Linked DNA regions of Homo sapiens: region 2 is linked to region 1. The links are contacts of gene promoters, found by promoter capture Hi-C in human tissues and cell types (Jung and others, 2019). All regions are on one chromosome and are shown on one strand. Each heading gives the region's core, a stretch centred on a gene start or on the middle of the fragment in contact. The rest is flanking DNA. Distances are from core to core; before and after follow the strand shown. Region 1 holds the start of FBN3 (fibrillin 3). Region 2 holds the start of TIMM44 (translocase of inner mitochondrial membrane 44).

Region 1 (6,628 bases), core at 2,324-4,823:
ATGCTCAGCCCCGCTCCTGTCCTTCAACAAAAGCAGCCCAGGCTCCTCGTGGCAACCAGAACCCTGTGAACTTCTTCTCCCTCCCGCAAGAGGCCGCTTCCCGCTCACCTCGGCTCACCCCGCAGCTGGGAGCCAGCGTCCCATCCGCACAGGTGCACAGGTTGGGCTGGGAGCAGAAGCCTTCACCGCAGGCGCGCCTACAGATGGCTGGATGAGTGCAGCGGGTGGCAGTCAAGACCAGGACCGAGCCTGGGCCGTCCCTGCTCCATTGGTGTCCGGGCTGGCCGGAACACCTCAGTGGACGCTGCTGGTCATCTGCATCCCCGGCTCTGCTCATAGCACACCCCACCCCTGTTTTCATGGGATGTCCCCCCACTCTCGGGCTGGGCTGGGCAGGGTGTGTGACCCAGGCTGTGGGTTGGGGACTCTGCTAGAGCCATGGGGAGAGAATGCTCTTTGGGCCAGAGCTGCTGAGCTGTGAGGACAGAGCTGGAGGTGCTGGGGTCCTGGATACTGAGGTTGGGTGTCTCCTGGGAAGTGGAGTCAGATTCCAGAGACAGAAACAGAAAGAGAGGGTGAGGCCAGAGAGAGACAAACAGAGAGAGACTCAGAGAAACAGAGAGAGAGAGAATCAGTTAGATAGAGAGACAGTAACCAACAGAGAGAGGCCAGGTGCAGTGGCTCACACCTGGAATCCTAGCACTTTGGGAGGCTGAGATGGGAAAATCGCTTGAGGCCAGAGTTTGAGACCAGCCTGAGCAACACAGAGACCCCCATCTCTAAAAATAATAATAATAAAGAAAAGAAACCAACAGAGAGAGACATGAGCAGAGATGAATAGAGAGAGGCAGAGACAAAGCAAGGGAACCAGAGAGACAGACAGACACAAGGAGGTTGTAGGGCAAAGGAAATGAACATGGCAGGTTGGCCTGGAACCCTGAGGACAGACGCAGATGCAAGGGCCATTCCTGTGGTTCAGCCAGAGGTCCCTGGCTAAGTCCCCGTGTAAACAGAGCTGAACCTGCAGGCAGGTAAGAGTGTCCCCGGCCTGTGCCCCCCCACCTCCAGACGGCGGTAGCACTCACGTACGACACACTGGCTCCTGCCAGGGAATGTCCTCCAGCCTGGACAGCAGTAGGCATGGAACCGGGAGCCGCACACATTCGGCCTTCGGGGACAGCGAGATGGGTCTGGTGAGCCCCTGCCCGTGTGGACATCCCCCCGGGTATTCCGCTGGCCCCAGGACAGCCCAATCCACACCGAAGGGGTCTCCCAGCATCCCAGGTACCACGCACCCCTGCAAGATGCCTGGGCTGCCCCGCCTCCGCACACGTCCAGGACCTGCAGCCTCCAAGGCCCCGTCCCAGCGGCCTTGGCCACCTGCCATGCACAACAGGGCCGACCAGGCCAGCAGGAGCCGGGCCAGGGGGCCCCTTGCCAAATACAGACCCTCCAGAGTCATGGCGTGTCCCCTGGAGGCTGCGGAGAGGAAGCAGAGTCAGCCCTAGATGAGCCCCCCACCCTAGCCATGGGGGACCCAACACAACGAGGAGGGCAGGGTGGTTGCCAAATGGGGCAGCCCCGGGGCCTCTGGGAGCCCAAGGAGGCATCCAGCCCCAACCGGGAAGCGGTGAACAGTCAGAGGAGGCTTCCTGGAGGAGGTGTGATGTTAGAGAAGGGTCTTGGGGCTGAGGGTGCACAGCCAAGGCAAGACGGGAGTGGGAAGTGGAAGGGAGGGGAGAGAGGGCCAGGTGGGGCCAGGTGGGGCCAGGCGTTGCAGGAGTGGGCATAGCAGTGTCATGCAGCTTTTGCTCATTCGTCAAGGACAATGAAGAGCCCTTGAAAAGCTTTGAGTGGGAGGAGCAAGGTCAGAAATGCATGTTAGGTGGTGTGGGGAAGGGCAGCAGGGTCCCGGGGGGGAAACAGGGTGTCAGAAGGCTGGGGGCTGTCCAGATGGGAGAGAGAGGAGAGGAATGGGAGGCTCATGTCGTGGGAGGTGGAGGGCATTGAGGAGATTCCCAAAGTTCTAGCTGGGACGGTGGAGCCCAGAGAGCGTCCAGGGTAGGAGGAAGATGGTAAGTCGTGGAAGGCAACAACCCCACTGTCCCTCTGTGACACAGATACCCCCACTCCTGCAATGCCTGGCCCCACCTGGCCCTGTGTCCCCTCGCCTCCACATCCCACGCCGGTCTTGCCTGGGCTGTGCACCCTTAGCCGCAAGACCCTTTTCTAACATCACACCTCCTCCAGGAAGCCTCCTCTGACTGTTCACTGCTCCCAGGTCAGGGCTGGATGCCTCCCTGGGCAGGGGGCCCAGGCAGGGGCTGGAACTTCCCAATGCAGAGAGTAACCCTGTGCCCAGCAGGGAAGGGACCGCTTCTGTGCCCATTTCACAGATGCACAAACTAAGGCCATCACACCATGAGTGAGGGGCTAAGCCGGAGCTTAAGCCCACGAAGAGAAGAAGGAGGGGAAGAAGATCAGGAACGGAACTCGCTCCTGCCCCCCTTGGCTGGGTCTTTCCTGGGCCATGAAGGACGGGAGGGAGAAGACCGGGACAGGAGACGACCGTTTGGAGGGTGGAGGCAAAATACTTGAGGGAGAGAAGCCAGACCAAGTGGCCTTCCTGTTCCATTCAGGTTCCAGGGAGGAAAGGAACCGGCCCTAGGTGGAGAATGGGCGGGGAGCCCTGCTGTGTGGTCTTGGCCACGCCCCTCTCTGGGCCAACCTGGTTGTCCAAAGGCCCCGGAGAAGGGAGAGACCCCTGTCAACGTTGGAGGGTTGGCTGGCTGGAGAGGGGCGCCCTCTTTTTCTTCTCAGTTGTCCGGGTCAGTCCGCACTCTGAGGCTCCGTGGACTCCAAGCAGCCTCGGGGCTTGCAAGCCCTCCTCCCCCACTCCCTCCGCCCCAGCCCCCTGCCTCGGGTCGGGTGGGGGAATTAGGTGGGGGGAGTCTCTGGCCTGATTTGCCTCGGTCCCCCCTACACACCGCTGCTTCTGCGAGCCACACCCTGGAGTTTGTGGAATGAATGAGCAGAGAAGGCGCGCCCGGCACGGGGTGTGGAGGCTGAGGGCCAAACAGCGAGGGATACCAAGCTTCGCCGACGGGGAGGGGGCGCCCCCGGAGCCCGCGGGGCGCGATCTCCACCCGGCAGGGCCCCCGGCCGCGACCACGCTTGGCTCCGCCCTCACCTGTGGGGTCAGGGGCCCCGCGCCCCGGCCGAGCCCCTCCCGCCGGGTCCCCGCGCCCCCACTCCCCACTGCGGCGGGCGCCACTAGAAGGCGGAGAGGGGAGGGGGCTGGGCCCGGGGCTGCCCGGCTGCGAACAAAGGAATCCTCTCCCCCTCCCCCTGCCGGCCCCCCCGCCCCCGCCTTCTCCACCCTTCAGCGCCCGCGATCTCGCCCCGCCGCTGGCCCCGCGCCTTCACCTACCTGCGAGGCGGCGCGCGTGGAGGCGGGCACGGCAGGCGGACGCGCGGGACTCAGCGCTGCAGGGCGGGCTCCTGCGGCGCCGGGGACCCGGGGCGGGAACGCAAAGCCGAGAGGCCGACCCCGCCGCGTTCCCAGCCCAGAGCTGCCACTCGGGGGGGAGTTGGGGGCGGGAGGAGTTGGAGGAGGGCGCGTTTGCACCTCTTAGCTCCCGGGGCGGGGACGGGGGGCTCCGATCCGGGGCGGGGAGAGAGGCTGCGGCTCGGGGGAGGGTCCGGGGCTCCGAGTGAAAAACTCCGATGGACTGGAGGGATGTGAGGGCGGGCTGGGGGCGCCTAGTAGGGGCTGCCGGGGCCGCGTTTTCGGATCGAGACTAAGGTGGAGGTGGGGCTCTGACTTTTGGAGGGCCTGGACGACAGCCTGGGCAGAGAAGTCCCGGGACTCACCTGGGCGGCCCTCTCAGGGCCTCCCAAGCCGCCACCCCCTCCCTCGAGCAAGGAGAATTGCGAGAGTGACGTTGGAAACTCACCTGGCTCTTGGAGCCTGGATTCTTAACTAGGCTGAGATCAGGGGCCCCTAAATATGTTGACAAAACATTGGGCAAAGCTGTATTTCCCAGGGAGAAGGGCCCAGGTTTTTCATCTGGTTCTCAAAATGAAGAGGTTAACAATTCAAACGGTGTAAACTTTCAAATCTCTTTGAACCTGTTTGTCCACCTACCAAAGGGACCAGACAAGAATTTTGGCTCCCTATCTGTTGTCAGTACTCCAAACAAAAATTTCTAGGCTTTTCCACTACCTTCATACCTTTGAGAATAGACCCTTAACATGGGGATCTGTCAGAAGCTGTGCGTTGGGCCTGAAGCTGTTACTCCATCCAGCAAACTCCTACGCATCTGTCAAAGTCCAGTTCAAAAATTCCCTCCCTATCCGCAAATTGTGAGTTTACTCTATTGAACTCCCAAAGCTGATTGTGCTGAATATCCCCCCACCACAGTACTTCCGGAATCTAATAAATAAGTAAGCCCAGTGGGCTTGAAACCAGGAGTTCGAGACTAACCTGGGTAACATAGTGAGACCCCATCTCTAAAAAAAAAAAAAAAAAAAAAATTAAAAAGAATTAGCCAGGCCTGGTGGCATGCATCTATAGTCCCAGCTACTCAGGAGGCTGAGGCAGGAGGACTGCTTCAGCCTAGGAGGTTGAGGCTGCAGTGAGTTATGATTGTGCCACTGCACTCCAGCCTGGGCAACTGAGCAAGACCCTATCTCCAAAAATTGGAGACCCTGTCTCCATTCCGGAAGTGCTATGGTGGGAGTATATTCAGCAAGTCAGCTTTGGGAGTTCAATAGGGTAAACTCACAATTTGCAGGGAGGGAGAGGATTTTGTTTATGTTTTGTTTTGTTTGTTTTTTGAGACAAAGTCTTGCCCTGTCACCCAGGCTGGAGTGCAATGGCACGATCTTGGCTCACTACAACCTCCACCTCCCAGGTTCAAGCAATTCTCCTGCTTCAGCCTTCCGAGTAGCTGGGATTACGGGCTTGTGCCATCATGCCCGGTAAATTTTTTGTATCTTTAGTAGAGACGGGGATTCACCATGTTGGCCAGGCTGGTCTCGAACTCCTAACATCGTGATCCACCTGCCTCGGCCTCCCAAAGTGCTGAGATTACAGGCGTGAGCCACCGAGTCTGGCCCAGAAGGGGATTTTTGAAGTAGGTTTTGACAGTTGCATAGGAGTTTGCTGGAGGAAACAGAACAGGCAAAGGCCTGGAGAAGGAGAGAACTTAGAACAAACATGCCTGGATGGAGTGAGGTTGGAACTTTAGGAGAGAGGAGAAGGGGAGGGAGCAAGAGGAAAGCAGGAAACATAAGAAGAGGCTAGAAGCACCGAGGAGCCCTCAGCAGGCTCCCCCCCCACCTCTGAGGGGAGACACGGTGGACTCACAGAAAGGGGAGGTTCTCCCAAGGCTCCACTTCCAGGTCTTAGACTGTGTCCGGGGAGCATTGAGGGCCCCAGGGCTGGGCTCGGGGAGCATGGGACAGACGCCGACTTCAGGGACAAGATCCAGTCATCCTGGCCAAGGGAGGGGCCCGTGGACCCTGTGAGAAGGGTCAGGTGGGGTGCTGGGGCATGGGGAGGGTGGACTGGGGAGGGAACCCCAGGATGGAGGTGGCCCAGCAGAGACAGGGGGGTGGGGTTCCTGTTGGAGGGTGGGCCCAGGGGCTATTGTGGACAAACCAGTTTCCCCGGCCACCTTGGACACCTCTTTCCAGGCTCCTCTGCCAAGGTCCACCCAGATTTGTTCTGCAACAAATGAATCTTACATGGGCACGGGGACAAGCACCGGGTGCCCTAGAAGCAGCCCAGCATAGGTGCAAAAGGTGGGGAGAGATTGTCCCATCCCAGGGACACTGCACAGCCACTGTTGCCATGGCTAAGTCTGGAGGAGGGCTTTCCTGGAAGAACTGTGGGCCAGGGAGCGACTCAGTCCTAGAAGTCTCCCTACCTGCCCTCCAGAAGAGAGGGGAGAAGGAAGCCGGAGGGTGTGGCAAGACCAGGATGTGGAGCTGTTGGAAGTCACCGCAACTGAAGTGCTCGAAAACGGCAGATAGTGGGCATTGGTTGTTCACAGCCCCCAACCCAAGCTACTGTCCACACCGCGTGCTGTAGTTTCAGACTTCCCATGGTGCCACCCTGGTCTGTTATGTTATTGCCAGTTATTGATGTGGTATCACAGACAGTGTCACCCCCCACTGTACCCTTATTACATCACACTGTTAAGAAGGGACATTTAGGCTGGGCATGGTGGCTCACGCCTGTAATCCCAACGCTTTGGGAGGCCGAGTTGGGCATATCACGAGGTCAGGAGATCAAGACCATCCTGGCTAACACAGTGAAACCCCATCTCTACTAAAAATATAAAAAATTGCTGGGCGCGGTGGGTCACACCTGTAATCCCAGCACTTTGGGAGGCTGAGGCGGGCGGATCACGAGCTCAGGAGATCAAAACCATCCTGGCTAACATGGTGAAACCCCGTCTCTACTAAAAATACAAAAAATTAGCTGGGCATGGTGGTGGGCGCCTGCAGTTCCAGCTACTCGGGAGGCTGAGGCAGGAGAATGGTGTGAACCCGGGAGGCAGAGCTTGCAGTGAGCCGAGATGGTGCCACTGCACTCCAGTATGGGCGACAGAGCGAGACT
Region 2 (6,628 bases), core at 2,876-5,375, 210 kb before region 1:
AGCCGGAGGTTGCAGTGAGCCAAGATTGTGCCACTGCACTCCAGCCTGGGTGATGGAATGAGACTCCATCTCAAAAAAAAAAAAAAAAAAGCAGGCTGGACACAGTGGCTCATATCTGTAATCCTAGCACTTTGGGAGACCGAGGTGGGCGGATCACTTGAGGCCAGGAGTCCGAGACAAGCCTGGCCAACATGGTGAAACCTTGTCTCTACTAAAAATACAAAAATTAGCCAGGTGTGGCGGCGCCTGCCTGTAGTCCCAGCTACTGAGGCAGAGGCAGGAGAACTGCTTGAACTCGGGAGGTGGAGGTTGCAGTGAGCGGTATCTCGCCCCTGCACTCCAGCCTGGGCGACAGAGTGAGACTCTGTTTCAAAAAAACAACAGAGAAACAGTTTAATGAATGATCATACAATAATCCAATCAGGCGGAAGGGGCCGCCTGTGGTCAACTTTTCCACAGCTGTGTTGGGTATACCAGCTCCAGGTGGGATCCCCCTCCCTGGCTCCTGTCAAGCTACAAGAGAAAGCTGCATCCAGCCTGGTGCTCAGGCCCCGTGGAGTCACACACCTGTGGTCCCAGCTACTCAGAAGGCTGAGGTGGGAGGATCGCTTAAGCCCAGGAGTTCAAGGCTGCAGTGAGCCGTGATAGTGCCACTGCACCCCAGCCTGGGCCACAGAGTGAGACCCTATCTTAAAAAAAAAAAAAAGCCCAGTGCTGCTCCCCAGGACAGGTGGCCAGGCCTCCTGTCAGCAGGCTGCAGTCCCATTCAGATGCCACCCTGGCCAGCCTTTCTCCAGGGGAAACCCAGGTTCTAAGTAAAATCATCCAGGACCACACAACCTTATCGCAGCCCTACCAGAGACTCTTGGGCTACAAACCATGGGAGTGAGTGTGTGGCGGGGGACTAGACAAGAAAGGGAAAGAGTCACAGGTCCTGTCCCACACCCACGATGGCCCCAGGACAGGACTGGAGAGGTAGGTAGCTGCCTCCAAGGAGGCAGCTGAGCTGAGGCTCTGGGCGCAGAGAGAGAGGGAGACAGAATGTACGCGCTGCCCGAATGTACAGGTCTGGGGAAGGGAGTCAGGTTTTGGGCTTCTGTCCTCACGATGCTGAGACACCAACAGAAGCACAGTTGAAGAGGAATGACCAGGAGAAACTGAGGTCTGGTTGTGACAAGGTGACTCTGTACCAATGATCAAAGGGCTATCTTCTAGAAAAGGAAACAGCTATGCTTGGTGAGGTACCCACGGGCAGAGGTCACAGGGAAGTAGAATTCAGTTCAATACAGGGGTCTCTTCCAAGCATTAGAGCCAACATAAAGGGCTATTCTGACAGCACCTTATCCCCTTACGACATCAAGCAAGAGGCAGGTCAAGTGTTTCTGGGACCGAGAAGGCCAGGCACACTGGGATCTGTCATTCTGAAAGCCCCGGACACAGAAGGCCCACCACCGAGATGGTACGAGCCACCTCTACAGCCCCACCCCTCCCTCCTGCCAATGGGATCTGAATTTTCGGGCCTCCCCTGTGTCTGCTGGCCCGAGCATCCTGAGTCACTCACCAGTGGCAGCTCTCCGCCCGGCCGGCGCATCTGATAGGTCGACCCATGGGGTAGGTTGTGGCTGGAAAGAAATTGGATTCCACTGCCGAGGCATCTCTAATTGGGGGGAGAGAAGAGAAAGATCCATTCTAACAAGAGGTTGACTGAGAAGTAAGCAGACCACACACAAAACAGCAGGGTCACCTGCAACTCACTGGCCATTTTTTTTTTTTTTTTGAGACGGAGTCTCAGGCTAGAGTGCAGTGCTGCGATCTCAGCTCCCTGCAACCTATGCCTCCTGGGTTCAAGCGATTCTCCTGCCTCAGTCTCCCGAGTAGCTGGAATTACAGGTATGCGCCATCACATCCGGCTAATATTTGTATTTTTAGGAGAGAAGCGGTTTTGCCATGTTGGCCAGGCTGGTCTCGAACTCCTGACCTCAGGTGATCCACCCCTCCCCCGGTTTTCCAAAGTGCTGGGATTACAGGCATGAGCCACTGCACCTGGCCTCACTGGCCAATTTGTATCTTATGCCTGATGCATGCCGGGCACTCTGTAATCTTCCCAAAGTCTGAGAAGCAAGCAGAAGCTGGTGGAAAGAGAAAATGCTGTGTCTGTACCTCCAGGGCCTACATCTATCCTCGTGCCCCTGAAACTGGGGGAAAACGGACAGGTCCCAGGAAATGCCAACCCATGGGGGGAAGAAGGCTAAATGTACAATTTAATCCCTTAGTCTGAAAGTAGGCACTCTAAGCTTCTATGCTAGTGGCAAGCAGTCTTCTCTTGCGAGCCCACCCCATTTCTGCCAGCCTCCAAAGATGAGAGAACTGGATTTTTCAGACACAAACATCGATAATGTGTTGCCCCAGGGACAACTCTGGAATAAACCTACAATGTCCTCCTCAAGGGTTGAGCTATAAACAGAGTAATTTAGGGGAGTCGCTCTGGGCAAAGACTGGGCTGATCTCATGTAAAAGGCACTTGCTGGCTGGGCGCGGTGGCTCACGCCAGTAATCCCAACACGTTGGGAGGCTGAGGTGGGAGGATCACCCGGTCAGGAGTTCGAGATCAGCCTGGCCAACATGGTGAAATCCCGTCTCTACCAAAAATACAAAAATTAGCCGGGCGTGGTGGCACACACCTGTAGTCCCACACACCTGTAGTATTGCTTAAACCCGGGAGGTGGAGGGTGCAGTGAGCCGAGATCTTGCCTTAAGTTCTGTGCAGGCACTGAGCTGGTGGCTCATGCCTGTAATCCCGATACTTTGGGAGGCTGAGGCGGAAGGATCGTTTGAGCTCAGGAGTTTGAGACCAGCCTGGGCAACATAGCTAGACCCTGCCTCCATAAAAAATTGGGGGAAAAAAAAAAAGCTCTGTGCAGGTCCTGTTCAGCTCGGCACCCTGTCACCCAGCACAGAACCTGGCGTGTTGATGTCAAAAGACCAGGTACAACTTCTCCACCATTTCCACATTTCCTGGGCCGTTTTTCTCTCTGTTCTCTGCCTCCTACCTCTGAGAACCCTATGCAACATCCCAAACTTACACAGGTGCCTACTATCTCCTGTATTTACTTGAGGATAACTTTTTTTTTTTTTTTTGAGACGGAGTCTCCCTCTGTTGCCCAGGCTGGAGTAAAGTGGCAGGATCTCGGCTCACTGCAATCTCCGCCTGCCGGGTTCAAGTGATTCTCCTGCCTCAGCCTCCCAAGTAGTTGGGATTACAGGAGCGCGCCACCATGCCCGGCTAATTTTTTTGTATTTTTAGTACAGATGGGGTTTTAGTAGAGATGGGATTTCACCATGTGGGCCAGTGGATCTCGAACTCCTGACCTCAGGTGATCCACCTGAGGCTGAGGCAGGAGAATCGCTTGAACCCGGAGGCAGAAGGAGGCAGAAGTTGCAGTGAGCCGAGATCGCGCCATTGCACTCCAGACTGGGCGACAAGAGCGAAACTCTGTCTCAAAAAAAAAAAAAAAAGAGAAAAAAGAAAAAACGAAGAGCACGAGCAATATGAAGTACTACTTTCTGAGTGCGCCTTACACGTCTTGACTGCCACTGCCCTGTGGACCCAAGAGCCTGCTAGGGCGCGAACCACCTCTCGCACATCCACAATGAACGTTAGAAGAAACGAGACAAGAAATGCTCTCGGTAGAGAACTTGGCATTTAACCGCGAGCTGTGAATTTCACGTTTTTTTGCCTTCCCCTCTACTTTTTTCCACGGGACGCCGCCGCCCCGGCTACCATTCTCTCTCCTGTATACGTGGAGTCTGATCAGAGGGCGAAGGGTGATCAGCTCCCTCCCAGGTCCCGCGCATCGCCGCCCCCTGCCCGGTAAGCTCGGTCCCCGCCCTCAGGCCACGCTCTGTGCCCCCTGTCCTGGCCTCTGCTACCCAAAGATCTAACCCCAAGCTTTCTAAGGAGCCCAAGCAAGGGTCGCGAAGGCCAAGGGTCTGAGAAGAAAGCCTTGGTGGCCGAAGGCCCAGAAGACCCCTAAGCTCGCCCTGCCAGCGCCGCACCGCCGCTCACCCGTGGACAGCGGCACCAGCCACTCCGCAGGGCCGCCGCCGCCATGTTGGAGAATCGTGTGACCTTCTCGCGGCGCGGCCCGGTTGCGTCATCCGCCGCTTCGGCCTAGAGCCGCGCAAGCCTGAGAAAAGCCGCTCCAGGAGCGGGGTTTCGGGTAGGGAGAGCCCTCCGATTGGGTCCGTCATAGGGCGGGGCATTAAAAGGGTAGGGAATGCCTAGAGAGCTTGACCTCTGATAGGGCAGTGTTTTGGAAGGACGGGGCCCGTGACTGGATGTGGCCCGGGGGAGGGCACTCCTGGGAGGGTCAGATCTGTGATTGGGCGCGACTACGAGGGGGCGGAGCCCAGGGGCGTGTATTCCGTCACTTGCGGTGATTCGGCTACAGAACGCGCCGGGCGCTGGTGGCAGGTGGTACAGGCACGTGGATCCACCGACCACAAGGACGGATTCGATTGGATTCTGATTGACCGGCGGACCAGCTCCAGAGTAATTGTCTATGGCTGCCCCTGCAATGACTGATTGATTGACAATGGCTGAGAGACCAGCAAGTGAGTCGCTCCGAGAAAGCGAAGGAGCCCACTCTTGTGCGGCGCTTTGGGAAGACGCCTGTTGGTTTTGACCCCGAATAAGAAGAGGAAGCTGAGAGCGGGCTGACTGTGGTCCAGTCCTACTTCGATTCAGTGTGAACTGACACTCTGATCTGAAGACGCTCAGGCCTTTGTCATTTCAGCACCCCAGATGCTATTTTCCATTCGAAGAATGCCGCCACCAGGTGGCGGTATTTTAACATGGCCATGCAATCCGGGTATGAGGAGGAGGGTTGGTCCCCTGGGAGAGCTAATGTATGTTGCTGTTGCTGTTTGTCTTATTGGATCCTTTTTTTTTTTTATAGAGCCAGAGGCTTGCTCTGTCACCCAGGCTAGAGTGCAGTGTCGTAATCTAGCTCACTGCAGCCTCCAATTCCCAAGCTCAAGCGATCCTCCTGCCTCAGCCTCTGAGTCACTGGGATTACAGGCGTGAGCTACCGCACCCGGTCTTTTTGCATTACTAACCTGTGATATGGGTTTATGGGACTTCATTATTTCAAAGGGAGGCAGCTTGGCCCCGGAGAGCATGCATTCCTGGCTTCTGCGATGGATAGACTTGTGTTCTCCATCTCAGGAGCTCCCCCTCAAGGTGGGGGTAAGAGATGAGGGCTTCCACTCTGGCTTTGTTCGAGATGTCTTGATGCCAAGAGGAGCAAACTAGTTAAGCGGTTGGTGTACACAGGTGTGTTGCTAAGAATAAGGTCTGGGCTAGAAATATGGATTCTTAGTTGTGGTTGAAAGTACGGAGTTTGGCCGGGCGCGGTGGCTCATGCCTATAATCCCAGCACTTTGGGACACTGAGGCGGGAGGATCTCTCCAGCCCAAGAGTTTGAGACCAGCCTGGGCAACATAGTGAAGACCTCTTCTTTACAACAAATACAAAACATTAGCTTGGCGTGGTAGCATGTGCTTGTAGTCCCAGCTACTCAGGAGGCTGAGATGGGAGGATCGTTGAGGCCCGGGAAGTTAAGGCTGTAGTGAGCCGTGATCGTGCCACTACACTACACTACACTACACTACACTACCTGGGCAACAGAGAGAGACCTTGTGTCAAAAAAAAAGAAGAAGAAAGAAAGAGAGAGAGAGAAAGGAAAGAAAGAAAACTACAGCATTGGACACTCAGAGGCAGTGTGTCATATAAGCATGTCAAAGACCCAAAGATAAAGTGGAGATAGAAGACTCCTTTAAGCCAGGATCCGTGGCTCAGTCCTATTATCCCAGCAACTCAGGAGCCTGAGGCAGGAGCATCATTTGAGCCCAGGAGTTACAGACCAGTCTGGGCAACATAACGAGACCCTATCTCTACAAAAATAAAAAAATAAGCCAAGCATGGTGTCTCTCGCCTGGAATTCCAGCTACTTAGGAGGCTGAGGTGGGAGGATCTCTTGAGCCCATTAGTTAGAGGCTGCAGTGAGCTATGATCACCCACTGCACTCCACCCTGGGTGACAGCATGAGACCTCCATCTCTTTTTTTGTTGTTTTGAGACAGAGTCTCACTCTGTCGCCCAGGCTGGAGTGCAGTGGCACGATCTTGGCTCACTGCAAGCTCCGCCTCCCAGGTTCACACCATTCTCCTGCCTTAGCCTCCCGAGTAGCTGGGACTACATGTGCCTGCCACCACACCCAGCTAATTTTTTGTATTTTTAGTAGAGACAGGGTTTCACCATGTTAGCCAGGATGGACTCGATTTCCTGACCTCGTGATCCGCTTGCCTCGGCCTCCCAAAGTGCTGGGATTACAGGCGTGAGCCACCACACCCGGCCTTTTTTTTTTTGAGATGGAGTTTTACTCTTGTTGCGCAGGCTGGAGTGCAATGGCGCGATCTTGGCTCACCGCAGCCTCTGCTTCCCAGGTTCAAGTGATTCTCCTGCCTCAGCCTCCCAAGTAGCTGGGATTACAGGCATGTGCCACCACACCCAGCTAATTTTGTGTTCTTAGTAGAGACGGGGTTTCTCCATATTGGTCAGGCTGGTC

What was found. Contacts are between HindIII fragments. The study calls those that stand out against the background at their distance.
Region 2: the fragment with the promoter of TIMM44 here is called in contact with the fragment with the promoter of FBN3 in region 1 in 1 of the 25 tissues and cell types used here (lymphoblastoid cells).

Annotation. Positions count from the first base shown.
Region 1 is chr19:8,146,019-8,152,646 of GRCh38, forward strand. FBN3 (fibrillin 3) reads right to left here and starts at 3,574. Exons shown (of 64, transcript NM_032447.5): 1 at 3,431-3,574; 2 at 1,296-1,479; 3 at 1,086-1,168; 4 at 109-207. The coding sequence starts at 1,462. RefSeq lists enhancers at 789-1,760, 1,761-2,731. The HindIII fragment of the contact is 21,800 bases long and covers 2,471-6,628 here.
Region 2 is chr19:7,939,541-7,946,168 of GRCh38, forward strand. TIMM44 (translocase of inner mitochondrial membrane 44) reads right to left here and starts at 4,126. Exons shown (of 13, transcript NM_006351.4): 1 at 4,067-4,126; 2 at 1,562-1,657. The coding sequence starts at 4,111. RefSeq lists enhancers at 3,147-3,690, 3,691-4,233, 3,860-4,229, 4,234-4,777, 4,778-5,320 and a silencer at 4,260-4,329. The HindIII fragment of the contact is 7,251 bases long and covers 3,122-6,628 here.